Linked DNA regions of Homo sapiens: regions 2, 3 and 4 are each linked to region 1. Evidence: promoter capture Hi-C in human tissues and cell types (Jung and others, 2019). All regions are on one chromosome and are shown on one strand. The core of a region is centred on a gene start or on the middle of the fragment in contact, and the rest is flanking DNA. Distances in the headings are between cores, read along the strand shown. Region 1 holds the start of STARD3 (StAR related lipid transfer domain containing 3). Region 2 overlaps IKZF3 (IKAROS family zinc finger 3). Region 3 overlaps IKZF3 (IKAROS family zinc finger 3). Region 4 overlaps MED1 (mediator complex subunit 1).

Region 1 (3,081 bases), core at 111-2,610:
AGGCCCTGAGTCCCTCTCTGCTTGCCTTTCAGAGCCTGGGGAGGAACCTCAGCGCCCTTCCCCCTCTGAGCCTGGCACATAGGCACCCAGCCTGCATCTCCCAGGAGGAAGTGGAGGGGACATCGCTGTTCCCCAGAAACCCACTCTATCCTCACCCTGTTTTGTGCTCTTCCCCTCGCCTGCTAGGGCTGCGGCTTCTGACTTCTAGAAGACTAAGGCTGGTCTGTGTTTGCTTGTTTGCCCACCTTTGGCTGATACCCAGAGAACCTGGGCACTTGCTGCCTGATGCCCACCCCTGCCAGTCATTCCTCCATTCACCCAGCGGGAGGTGGGATGTGAGACAGCCCACATTGGAAAATCCAGAAAACCGGGAACAGGGATTTGCCCTTCACAATTCTACTCCCCAGATCCTCTCCCCTGGACACAGGAGACCCACAGGGCAGGACCCTAAGATCTGGGGAAAGGAGGTCCTGAGAACCTTGAGGTACCCTTAGATCCTTTTCTACCCACTTTCCTATGGAGGATTCCAAGTCACCACTTCTCTCACCGGCTTCTACCAGGGTCCAGGACTAAGGCGTTTTTCTCCATAGCCTCAACATTTTGGGAATCTTCCCTTAATCACCCTTGCTCCTCCTGGGTGCCTGGAAGATGGACTGGCAGAGACCTCTTTGTTGCGTTTTGTGCTTTGATGCCAGGAATGCCGCCTAGTTTATGTCCCCGGTGGGGCACACAGCGGGGGGCGCCAGGTTTTCCTTGTCCCCCAGCTGCTCTGCCCCTTTCCCCTTCTTCCCTGACTCCAGGCCTGAACCCCTCCCGTGCTGTAATAAATCTTTGTAAATAACTGCTGAGACTCCTCTTTCAGGGGAAGCAGGAGGAAAAGGGAGGTAATGGGGCGTCCTGATAGGGAAGGCCGGTGGTCAACCAAGGGTTAGGGTTTTGACCCTACTGTCCAATCCTCTAGTCTAGGAGTCTTTCTGGCAGACAGCAGGCTCGGGGCACTCAGAGGAAGAACTACAGAAGTTCTAGCTGCTGCTTGGGATGGCTGAAGGAGGCAGGTGGGGTGGGGAAGTCCTTCTCGAATAACTGGATTCCTCCAAAGATTTCCCCATCCCCACAGGACTCCCCTCGGGAAATTCCCCTTTTTCCCTCAGTGCCAGGCCTGTGTGGCCTAATAACGACGGCCCTGGTCTTCTTCCCACTCCCCTACCCTTAGGTAGGCCCTTAGACTCCGGCCTTTGAGTCCGCTTCTGCGCAGGGCCGGGGCTGGAGGCGGGGCGAAGGGGCGGGGCCGCAGGCGAACGCAAGTCCCGCTTCGCTCTCGGGGGCGGACTCAGCGGCGGAAGTGGCGCTGCCGGAAGATCTTCTTCCGCTCTGAGGCGCTACTGAGGCCGCGGAGCCGGACTGCGGTTGGGGCGGGAAGAGCCGGGGCCGTGGCTGACATGGAGCAGGTGGGTCCCGGAGCGGTCGCTGGGAGCGGGTGGCGTGCGAGGGCCGTCTTCCGCCGGTCGAACCCGCTTCGCCGCCCGCTGTCCGTGCTGGGTTCCGTCCGACCCTTCCCACACCCGCTGCGTCTCAGGTTCCGCCCCCTTCCTCTGTCTGGCCTCGCGCCGCCCCGCGCGGGTTGGGGTCTCCAGCAATGACTCTTGGCGACCCCGCCTATCCTGGGGAGCCCGGGGAGGACGTTCGGGATCTCCTTCCAAAGCCTCCGTCTTAACTGAGGGGAGAGGAGAGGGTGAGGTGTCTGGGTGTTATGAGCAGGGGCAGGTATGGGGAGGGGTCGGAATCTGGGGTGAGAGGAAAACATCTACGCATTCCGGTAGCTCTGCGTCTCAGTGTCATCCCGTGTCTCCCCAACTTCCTTTCGAAACGGCCGTGAATAACTTCCTAATTGGTATTAAAAGGGCCCTTTGAAGTCTTGAGTTCTTAGAGGTGCATAGTACCATTGACACTCATTTCTAATGACACGTTCCCTCACCCCGCATTTTTGGGTTAGTCAATGTCTCCTGGTTTTCTTCGTACCGCTCTGACAGTCGGTCAAAGTCCCGCTTCACGTTTTCCTCTGTCGCCCAACCCCTCGCTCTGTACACTGAATCTCAGTGGTCTTATTTTCCCCCACGGCTTCAGCTTTACACCAACTAAATACCCAGATCCACATCTTCAGCGCAGCCCTTCCCTGGAGCTCCACGCTTGCCCATCCAGCGGCCATTGGGACAGCTCTGCTTCACATGGAGCTCACTGGGTCCAAACTTGAACTGGTCTTTTCCTTGCAGATTAATTCTTCCTCTACCCCAACCCAGCCGGAAGTCTGGTAATTTCCTTACACTTTCTCCTCTCTTTCAAGTCCCACATCTTAAAAGTGACCTAGTACTGCCAACTTCCTGAACATCCTTCAAACCTGGGCCAGCTCCATCTCTTCTGTTACCACGCTGTTGATGTATTGTCAATTCCCAACAGTCCAGCCCTGGCAGCTTGCAACCCAGTCTCCAAACTGTAACTCTTGTGATCCTTTTAGAACACAAGTCTTACGGTGCCAGTTCCTTGCTGATAACCTTTTTCTGGCTTTCTATTGCCTATGTGCTGAACCCCTAGCACAATTTACACAGCTCTCTGTGATCTGACCTAGCAGTCTCCTGTGTGCACCCTAAGGTCCAATAATACGGCACTGCAGCATGCGCCATGCCTACCCTTGCTGTTCGTATCTTCATGACTTTGCACACACCAGCCCCCGCTGCTTGGAAACCTCCTCCTTCTCTTGTCTGCTGGGCTACCTTCTACATGTTTTTCAGCGCAGGCAGCGCTGCCTCCGCCTAACCCCCAAGGTTAATTGCCCTTCTGTGTCCTGTAGCACCCTGTCCATAATAGCATAGTAGCTGAGAATACAGACTCCTGGATCAGACTGCCTGGGTTCTGACCTGTTTGGTAACCTTGATGAAGTCAGTGCCTCAATTTCCTCACTTGTAAAATGGAGGTAGGAATGTCTCTACTTCATAGAGTTGTGAGGATTGAATGGAATATTGTATGTTTAGGTCTTAAACCAGTGCTAGGCACAAGAATGCTCAATAAATTAAAGTGAGTTGCCTG
Region 2 (2,756 bases), core at 87-2,586, 170 kb after region 1:
CAGAAGTTAACAAAGAGCCTTTCCTATTTTCTCAAGGGCTGCTATGAAATTACTTAAGGAGTAAGAAAGGATAACAAAGGCCCTGGCTGAGATTTTTGCTTCTGTAGACGCAGGTGCAGAAAAGGCTGGTTCTAACACATCTTGTCAATGTCTTTAATGCCACCAGACTGATGAATATAGTGAAATATCTATCGTGATCCCATTTTTACTTATTCAGTTGACATAATTAGCAAATCTATTAAGGGTAAGGTCACAAATTATTTTTAGTTATTAAACCATAGGTCTCCATATGTTACTGTTTAGACAGTATCACCCAGTGCAGAATGTAGTTTTCAAGACTGTCATTCCTGCAACCTCAAATCTAGATCCAAATGCAGTCAGTTAAAGCAGATTTCAACCAGGCAGCTAAACGAGAAAACATCTGGACCTACCAGTCAAAATGAGAAAGGTCACATGTTAAACCCAGATAATCTTGTTTATTGGTGTTTGAAGGTTATACACCAAGGGCTGGATTACCAGGGTGCTCCTTTAGGCCTGGCTCTGACATCTTCATTCACCTGCTGTGTGTGTGACGCTTTAAAATCCAAAGCTTTGAAAGTACTGTGTTATTAGTCACTTCCAAATGTAATTTTCCTAATTCTAAGCCTGAATACTATGTCAACCTATTGCTAGACTGCTGATTAGATCCTGGAAGAAACCGCAAGACACAACTGTCAGGGGCAGATGATGTCTATTCTTTTAAAAACTGTTTTCCACATTTCCATTCAGCATTTTTCTATGGATGAAGCACCTGTAATTTTCTCCATCAAAATTAAGAAAAGAAAAGGCCTCTGAATAAGCAAGGAATAAAATTAAAAGATTGACATAGATTTCAGGATGATGATGAAGAAAGGGAGATTGAATCTTTCATTATTTTTCATAATTAGTATTATTTTATATACAAACAACTGAACCAAAATTGTTTATGTTGGAAGCAATTCCACATGCCAGTGCATATGAAACTATTATGAAAACAGCAAAGTCAAGTTTCTTAAGACTTTACATGCTTTGGTCAGATCTTTTTAATCTTTTTTAGGTTGTGAACATCTTTGAGAACTGTACTCTTTGCCCAGAAAAAGGTACACATGCCCATAAACACGAAATTTCACATACTATTGATTGATTTCTCAAACCCTGAGATCTCAGGTTGAGAATCTCTGCCTCAGGCCTTTAAATAGGCTCAGGCTTAAAGACACCTCTGTGTTATATTTTGTAAACTTCATATAATAGTGGTTGGCATTTTTCAAATTTTTTGCTCAAGCATCCTCAAAAGAATTTTGAAAAATTATATATCTCTCTTATACATAGTGGACATTAAGTACATACTAAGTTGACATCTATAATTTTTCATCATGAGTTTAACTATTTTTAAACAAAAGAATACAGTTTGTGTATTGTAAATAATGATAGTTTAAACCATTACCACACCCTTTCAAATGTATCTACTTAGGAATATATACATATTTGTGATTTAATTTACTCCATCATGAATTTAAAAATACATAAGTAAGCTTTTCAAGAAAGTCAGGAAATTTCTCTTTGAACTTCTATTTCCATTTCACTACCCCCATGGAATTTTCTCCTAATGTAGTACTCTTGTATGCTTGAGTCATCTATTGTTCATCCCATTATATGTATCTGCAGCAAAAAAAAAAAAAAAAACCCAATAAAATATAGTTACTTTTGTTAACATGAAGTGCTATGTGTCAAAATGTGTTTTCTTCTGGATTGAATTAGCATTACAATTATTAACATACAATTGAGTAAAACAATATAGGTATATTATAATTTGATCAATAATTACCAAATACAAAAAGTAAAATTTATTGGGACTGTATCTCCTAATGAGAAGGATAGAGAGGAAATAAGTTATGAAAATTTGATAAAAGAAATTATCTAATTGATCCTTTGTTTGGCATCTTGGAAGTACTTACACCTTAGAGGTGGGTGAGAAATGTTCTTTTCTTTTATAAAGTGGAGAAGGAAGGCTGGGCATGGTGGCTTATGCCTGTAATCTCAGCAATTTGGGAGACCAAGGCGAGAAGATCACTTGAGTCTAGGAGTTCAAGACCAGCCTGGGCAACACAGTGAGACCCCTCTACAAAAAGTTAAAAAATTAGCAGGGCATGGTGGTGGGTGCCTGTAGACCTAGTTACTCAGGAGGTTGAGGTGGAAGTATTGCTTGAGCCCACGAGGTCAAGGCTACAGTGAACTGTGATTACACCACTGCACTCCAGCCTGGACAGCAGAGCAAGACCCTGTCTGAAAGAAAGAAAGAAAGAGAGGGAGAGAAAGAAAAAGAGGGAGAAAGGGAGGAAATAAAAAAAGAGAAAGAGAAAGAGAGAAGGAAAGAAAGAAAGAAAGAAAGAAAGGGAAAGAAAGACAGAAAGGGAAAGAAAGAAGGAAGGAAGGAAGGAAGAAAGGACGGAAGGAAGAAAGGAAGGAAGAAAAGGAAGGAAGGAAAGGAAGGAAGGAAGAAAGAAAGAAAGGAAGAAAGAAAAGAAAAAGCAAGCAAGCTCAATGGCAGCAGTCTTCTAGGCAGATCAGTTTTAGGAAGAAGGGCAGAGAATATACTGAAGTTGCGGACCTGGAAATTGATTCTCTTAAAATTATCCCATGCAATCCTTGGAAAGTTTTCCCAGCATTTCAAGAACACTACTAAAATAAAAGACCCCAATGCCAAAATGTACTCACATGCTGTTCTTCACTTTAGTTAA
Region 3 (2,902 bases), core at 346-2,845, 140 kb after region 1:
AACTGCCTATGGGCTGGGTGCGGTGGCTCATGCCTGTAATCCCAGCACTTTGGGAGGTGGAGGTGGGCAGATCACCTGAGGTCGGAGTTCGAGACCAGCCTGACCAACTTGGAGAAACCCTGTCTCTACTAAAAATACAAAATTAGCCTGGTGTGATGGTGCATGCCTGTAATCCCAGCTACTCGGGAGGCTGAGGCAGGAGAATCACTTGAACCTGGGAGGCAGAGGTTGCAGTGAGCCGAGATGGCGCCATTGCACTCCTGCCTGGGCAACAAGGGCAAAATTCCGTCTCAAAAAACAAAGAAACAAACAAAACACAAAAAAACCTGCCTATGAATGTGGGCCCATCCACAAATAGACCTGTGAGTGGTGTAGGCCTGTGGTTCTCAGACCTGGCTGCACATTAGACTCACCTGAATAGCAGGTAAGAAATACCTATGCCCAGGCCCCCCTTCAGATCAATTAAATCAGGATTTCTGGTATAGGGGCCTAGGCAAGAATATTTTCAAAGCTCCCCAGATGATTTTAAAATGCAGCCAGAATTGAGAACTACTAGAAGAGTATATAAATAGTGGCAATATCTAATCAACTAAAATAGTAAACTGTAATGAATATAATTTACCTCAATTCAGCAGGCAGTGCCCAAATTTATGTCTAAAGTTCAAAGAAGGCCAGGCACGGTGGCTCACGTCTATAATCCCAGCACTTTGCAAGGCCGAGGCGGGCAGATCACCTGAGGTCGGGAGTTCAAGACCAGCCTGACCAACATGGAGAAACCCCATCTCTACTAAAAATATAAATAATTAGCTGGGTGTGGTGGCGAATGCCTGTAATCTTAGCTCTCGGGAGGCTGAGGCCGGAGAATCGCTTGAACCCAGGAGGCAGAGGTTGTGGTGAGCCGAGATTGAGCCATTGCACTCCAGCCTGGGCAATAAGAGCAAAACTCCATCTCCAAAAAATAAATAAATTAATTAAATAAATTTCAAAGAGATACCAGCTTCTCTAAATACAAGGCTTGACATTTTAACACATGATGCTAGCCTGAACCAGGGATCAGCAAACTTTTGTCTGTAAAGGGCCAGACAGTAAATTTTAAAAATTTGCCAGACACATATAGTCTCTATGTTATATTCTTTGTTTTTTGTTTTTTTTTTTTCTGTTCCACGGCCTTTTAAAAACGTAAAAATCCCTGTACACAAACAGGCCACTGGCTGCACTTGCCTAGAGCGCCACAGTTTGCCCTCACCTGCCCTGGGCAAACATATTGTGATGCTGTAAACATTTTTCTCTGTTTTCTCATAAACACTTCGGGAGATCCAAACTAAAATGAACTATCCATACATTTCTATTATGTCTAAGGAAGAATAAATTGAAATTAGTTTAAGGGATTAGAGTAAAAAGCAAGTAGTGGCTGGCACAGTGGCTCACCCCTGTAATCCCAGTGCTTTGGGAGACTGAGGCAGGAAGATTGCTTGAGGCCAGGAGTTGAGACCAACCTGGGCAATATAGCAAGATCCTGTTCCTACAAAAAGTAATTTTAAAAAATTAGCTGGGCATGTTGGCATGCGCCTGTAGTCCTAGCTACTTGGGAGACTGAGGTGGGAGGGTTCCTTGAGCCCAGGGGTTTGAGGTTACGGTGAACTATTAAGGTAACTGCAAAGACCACAATTACTTTTGCACCAACCTATTAGTGCCAGTGCACTCCAGCCTGCGTGACAGAGTGAGACTCTGTCTAAAAAAAAAAAAAAAAGCCCCAAAGTATTAAATATTTCTAATTTTATTAGTGGCCTTAAAAAACTGTATGTTAGTCATTACACAATACATTATAAAGCTCAGTTTTCATTATTTAGTTAATTTATTTACTTATTTTTGAAACAGGGTCTCAACTCTGTTACCCAGGGTGGAGTGCAGTGGCATGATCACAGCTCACTGCAGGCTCAACCTCCTGGGCTCAAGTAATCCTTCTACCTCAGGTTCCAAAGTTGCTGGGACTACAGTCTAAAGCCACCATGCCTGGCTAATTAAAAAAAAAAATTATTAGTCTCAATATATTGCTCAGTCTGGTCTCCAACTCTTGGCCTCAGGCAGTCCTCCCACTTCAGCCTCCCAAAGTGTTGGGATTACAGGCATGAGCCACTGCACTCAGCCAAAGCTCAGCTTTTTTTTTTTTCCTGGAATAACATAAAATCTGGCTCTGCCAGGTGTGGTGGCACTAGCCCATAGTCCCAGCTACTCAGGAGGCTGAGGTGAGAGGATGGCTTGAGCCTAGGAGTTCAAGTTCAGCTTGGGCAACACAGTGAGATCCCATCTCTTAAAAAGAAAAAGAAATCCAGCTCCAAAAATGAAAAAGAAGAGGATGATAATAATGTGATAATAATGACAATATTTACTAGACAGTGAGTTTCTTGTCAAAAATAATTCTAGGCTCTAAAGGAATAAATCATAGCCTTCAGTGAAGCTATTAACAACTATTTGTGTAAATGAAAACAGTAAGGGTCAGAATAGGGGGCCTGAGTGGCTTTTGGGCTAGTGCAAAAGTACTCGACTGACTCTGGCTGACCAGCAGTTGTAAATAACGGGCACTTCAGCCACAAGACACTGCTATTGAGTGAAGAGGGTCAAATTCTGTCCAGCACAGGGATAGGTTTAAATGACCAAACAGGAAATTATTTATATATATTATTTCCTTTCACACAAAACCACCACCAGATGTGGCACTACCCAAAGCCCCAAGAGCAGAGAGATGAAAGACAAAGCTTGGAATTTGCAGTAAGTTCCTGGGGCTGTTAGGAGACTTTTTTCTTAGAATCAGGGGAGAGGTAGCTAAGTTTGCACTTTGACTAGGAACATTCATCCTGGTTCCAGCAATTTTGAGAAGATTAAATCCAAGTAAGCCTCCCCT
Region 4 (3,150 bases), core at 117-2,616, 230 kb before region 1:
ATCACTTTTCTCACGCTTGCCCTGAAACTCTCCTCCTGACATGTTATGTTTGGAGGACATAGGATGGCTGGAAGAATTTGTGCTCACCCCCATCTGGCCGTCCAGTGGGTCTTCACCCCCAGGGCCACTGGTGACAACCCCATGCTTCAGTTTATCTATGACAGCTGTCAAGGACGGCTTCTTGTTTCTGCTGGGAGATTTTCCTTTAGAACTCCCATGCTGGTTCTGAGAGGATGACATGGAAGAGCCACTTGAGGAAAAGGAGGAGGAAGATGCCGTACAGGAATTAGATGATGGGGGAGTTTTCTGGGACAACGAGCCTGAGGATCCTAACCCTGAAGATGACTTCATGCCAGAGCTTGAACTAGTTCCAGACATATGAGAACCACCAGAACCTGAACTGATAGGGGACTTGGCTTTAGAGGATGGAGGAGTTCCAGGAACAGGCTTCATTGGAGAGGCAAGCTTGTCAGAGCCTCCAGGTGGCCTTGAATGAGAAGGGGATATGTTTGGTTTACTTAAAGAAGGATTCATAAGTGATGATGGCTTTCCTTGAGGTTTCATCTTGGTGCTGCTAGAGCCACTGCTCAGTCCATGCTTGGTTATGGGAGAGGAGCCTGGCTTCCCCCCAGACTGGGATGAATTTTTGGACTGGCTAGATCCAGAAGACCCCTGGCTAGAATACATACTGCTACTTAACTTGGAACTTGATGAACCTTCTGATTTACTGCTTTTCATCTTCCCTGAGGTGGAAGCAGATGAGGAAGAGGAGGAAGAATGGCTATGGTGGCTTTTGCTGCCTGAGGAAGACACAGAACCACTGCTGGTATACTGACTGTGAGAGGAAGGCTTGCCCACCATCACTGTTCCCTTAGGAATCTGAATAGTGATTTTGGGAATGGGTGGTGTGGCAACACCTGGGGGAGTCTGAGATCTTCCTGCACTGCCTGGCGATTTAGATCCACCTGTACTGGTAGGTGGGGTAAAAGGTCTGTTAGAAGAACTATGAGATGGAGACTTTCCCTCAGTGTCTGCCTTCTTCCGCTTTGGAGGCTTATCTTTGCTTTTCCCATCATTAGAAGGGGTCCGACTGCGCTTCCCTGGTTTGCTGTCTAATCCGGGCCCCGAGAGAGTACTATTACTGGTGCCATTGCCTTCCTTTACCCTCTTTTGAGTCTTTTCTTTCCCTAAGTCCCCAGTGGTCAGTAAAGGACCCTGACTACCACTGTGATGCTCCATAAGATCTGCAGGAGCTAAAGCTTTGCCGGCTACTGAAATAATACTGAAATCAACTGTGTCGGCTTGGTTATTGCCCTTAAACTTGGTCTCCCCATTATCACCTCCAAGCATTGGCACCCCCAAAGTATTTAGTGCCTGAGATGCAAATCCTTTGAAATCATCATTATCCCCACTTTGGCTGCTTTCATCAAAATATTCTTCTCCAAAACCACTTTGGCTCTGGCTGTTCAATAAATCAGGATTGAAATCTACTCCATCATGAAAAAAATGATTGGTAGGAGAGTCACTACTGGGGCTTCCAGCAGCATCTGCAATAAGATCAGCTGGATCAGTGTATGGATTTTCATTATTGTTAGTTTGAAAGACATCAGAGTCAAACAGGGTACTCTGAGAATGCCCAGAGCTTGAAGAATCTCGAAGAGGGGTGCCAATGGCTGGGCAATCATCACTAGTGCTGGGAAGTTTAGAAGCTTCTTCTGCAATGTCTGAAAGGATGTCAGTTACATCTGGGCCAATGCTGTCTGAACTGGATAGTCGGACCATCCTTTGAATACTGGGTTGGGGGTGAGGTACTGGTTGTGGGTAAGTTGTTGGGGGAGTGCTACACTGGCTTGGAGCTGGAGTGATGTGTGGCGTATCCAGCGTGTCAGCTGTCATGTTGACATCAAAGATAGGGTTCTGTGAGTCAACATCCATTGAAAATAGCTCCCTCTGAAAGTCATCTTCAGTCTGGTGCTTTGGTTTCTCAGGTGGTAATCTTGATGACTTCTTTTTCTTGGTCTTGTTGCTCCCCGAGCATATTTCCATGCGGGGTGAGCCGGAAGAGGAGTTCTGCCTTTCTAAAGGGCTGCTTCCATAAAGGGTTGAGAAATCCTGGGCAGGATTATCTTTAAGAAGGTTCATGAGCATCGGGTGGTTCTTGGTGTTGCCGGCCATCGAAGAGACAGGTGGCGGCGTGTGATGAGGAGGGGTCGGACTCGAGCCAATGGTAGACCCCCCGTTCCCTGTGATTTGCAACAAACTGGTAAGAATTGGGTTCTGAGACACCTTGCTGAAGTCCTCCCCATGGCCCACCGACTCATGCCGATCTTTGATGCTCATGCTCATATTAAACAAGGTGGTAATGGGACCCCCCGGAAAGGTGTTGGTTGGTGTAGTGGTACCACTCATTGGGTTGTTGCCTGTGGTCATGCCATACCCTGGGCTGCTAGCCGGGGGCAGGTTCTTTTTCACCATGTCTTCAACTGTCTCTGCAATGAGGGACAGTGCTGGGGTGTCGGCTTGAATGGTTTCAGCTTTCCTCCGAATAGCCCTCATCGTCACAGGGATGGACATACATCTGCAAAATAAAGAAGAAAACAAAGTTAACATTGCAATAGCTGCTGAATGAGACCTGAGATTTAGATATAACATCAGAGTTTTGCAGTAAGCAGTTTTCAGGTAGGGCAAATAATCTGTAAGACAAAAATAGTTCTATCAAATACCAGAGCTTTGGGTAAATACATTCTAAAAATCTAACCCAACATAAAATTGTCAACCTCTTATGAATCACACAACAAAAGCAAACTATAAACAAGAGTCCAAATAATTGAATTTCAAACTTAACTAAAAGAAAATTGGTAATAATGGAACTCAGTAAGAAAATGCCTCCTTAGGGGCCGGGCACAGTGGCTCACGCCTGTAATCCCAGCACTTTGGGAGGCCAAGGCGGCTGGAACATGAGGTCAGGAGATCGACACCATCCTGGCCAACATGGTGAAACCCCGTCTCTACTAAAAATACAAAAATTAGCTGGGCGTGGTGGCGCGTGCCTGTAATCCCAGCTACTCGGGAGGTTGAGGCAGGAGAATTGCTTGAACAAGGGAGGCGGAGGTTGCATTGCACTGAGATCACACCACTGCACTCCAGCTT

The links. Contacts are between HindIII fragments. The study calls those that stand out against the background at their distance.
Region 2: a contact is called between a fragment that was not itself captured here and the fragment with the promoter of STARD3 in region 1, in 1 of the 25 tissues and cell types used here (mesendoderm cells).
Region 3: a fragment that was not itself captured here is called in contact with the fragment with the promoter of STARD3 in region 1 in 5 of the 25 tissues and cell types used here (H1 embryonic stem cells, liver, lymphoblastoid cells and 2 more).
Region 4: a fragment that was not itself captured here is called in contact with the fragment with the promoter of STARD3 in region 1 in 1 of the 25 tissues and cell types used here (dorsolateral prefrontal cortex).

Annotation. Positions count from the first base shown.
Region 1 is chr17:39,635,784-39,638,864 of GRCh38, forward strand. STARD3 (StAR related lipid transfer domain containing 3) reads left to right here and starts at 1,361. Exons shown (of 15, transcript NM_006804.4): 1 at 1,361-1,448. PPP1R1B (protein phosphatase 1 regulatory inhibitor subunit 1B) reads left to right here. Exons shown (of 7, transcript NM_032192.4): 7 at 33-841. The coding sequence ends at 82. It overlaps LOC124903998 (a long non-coding RNA gene), which reads right to left and starts at 1,507. Exons shown (of 2, transcript XR_007065749.1): 1 at 1,208-1,507. RefSeq lists enhancers at 1-129, 1,913-2,032 and a silencer at 1,303-1,372. The HindIII fragment of the contact is 10,179 bases long and covers 1-3,081 here.
Region 2 is chr17:39,808,933-39,811,688 of GRCh38, forward strand. The region is part of intron 3 of IKZF3 (IKAROS family zinc finger 3); the gene reads right to left. Among named protein-coding and RNA genes, the nearest start is that of IKZF3, 54 kb to the right of the region's middle. The HindIII fragment of the contact is 4,134 bases long and covers 1-2,756 here.
Region 3 is chr17:39,778,510-39,781,411 of GRCh38, forward strand. The region is part of intron 6 of IKZF3 (IKAROS family zinc finger 3); the gene reads right to left. Among named protein-coding and RNA genes, the nearest start is that of GRB7, 42 kb to the left of the region's middle. RefSeq lists a silencer at 1-105. The HindIII fragment of the contact is 7,861 bases long and covers 1-2,902 here.
Region 4 is chr17:39,408,144-39,411,293 of GRCh38, forward strand. It overlaps MED1 (mediator complex subunit 1), which reads right to left. Exons shown (of 17, transcript NM_004774.4): 17 at 1-2,578. Among named protein-coding and RNA genes, the nearest start is that of FBXL20, 8.1 kb to the left of the region's middle. The HindIII fragment of the contact is 5,074 bases long and covers 1-3,150 here.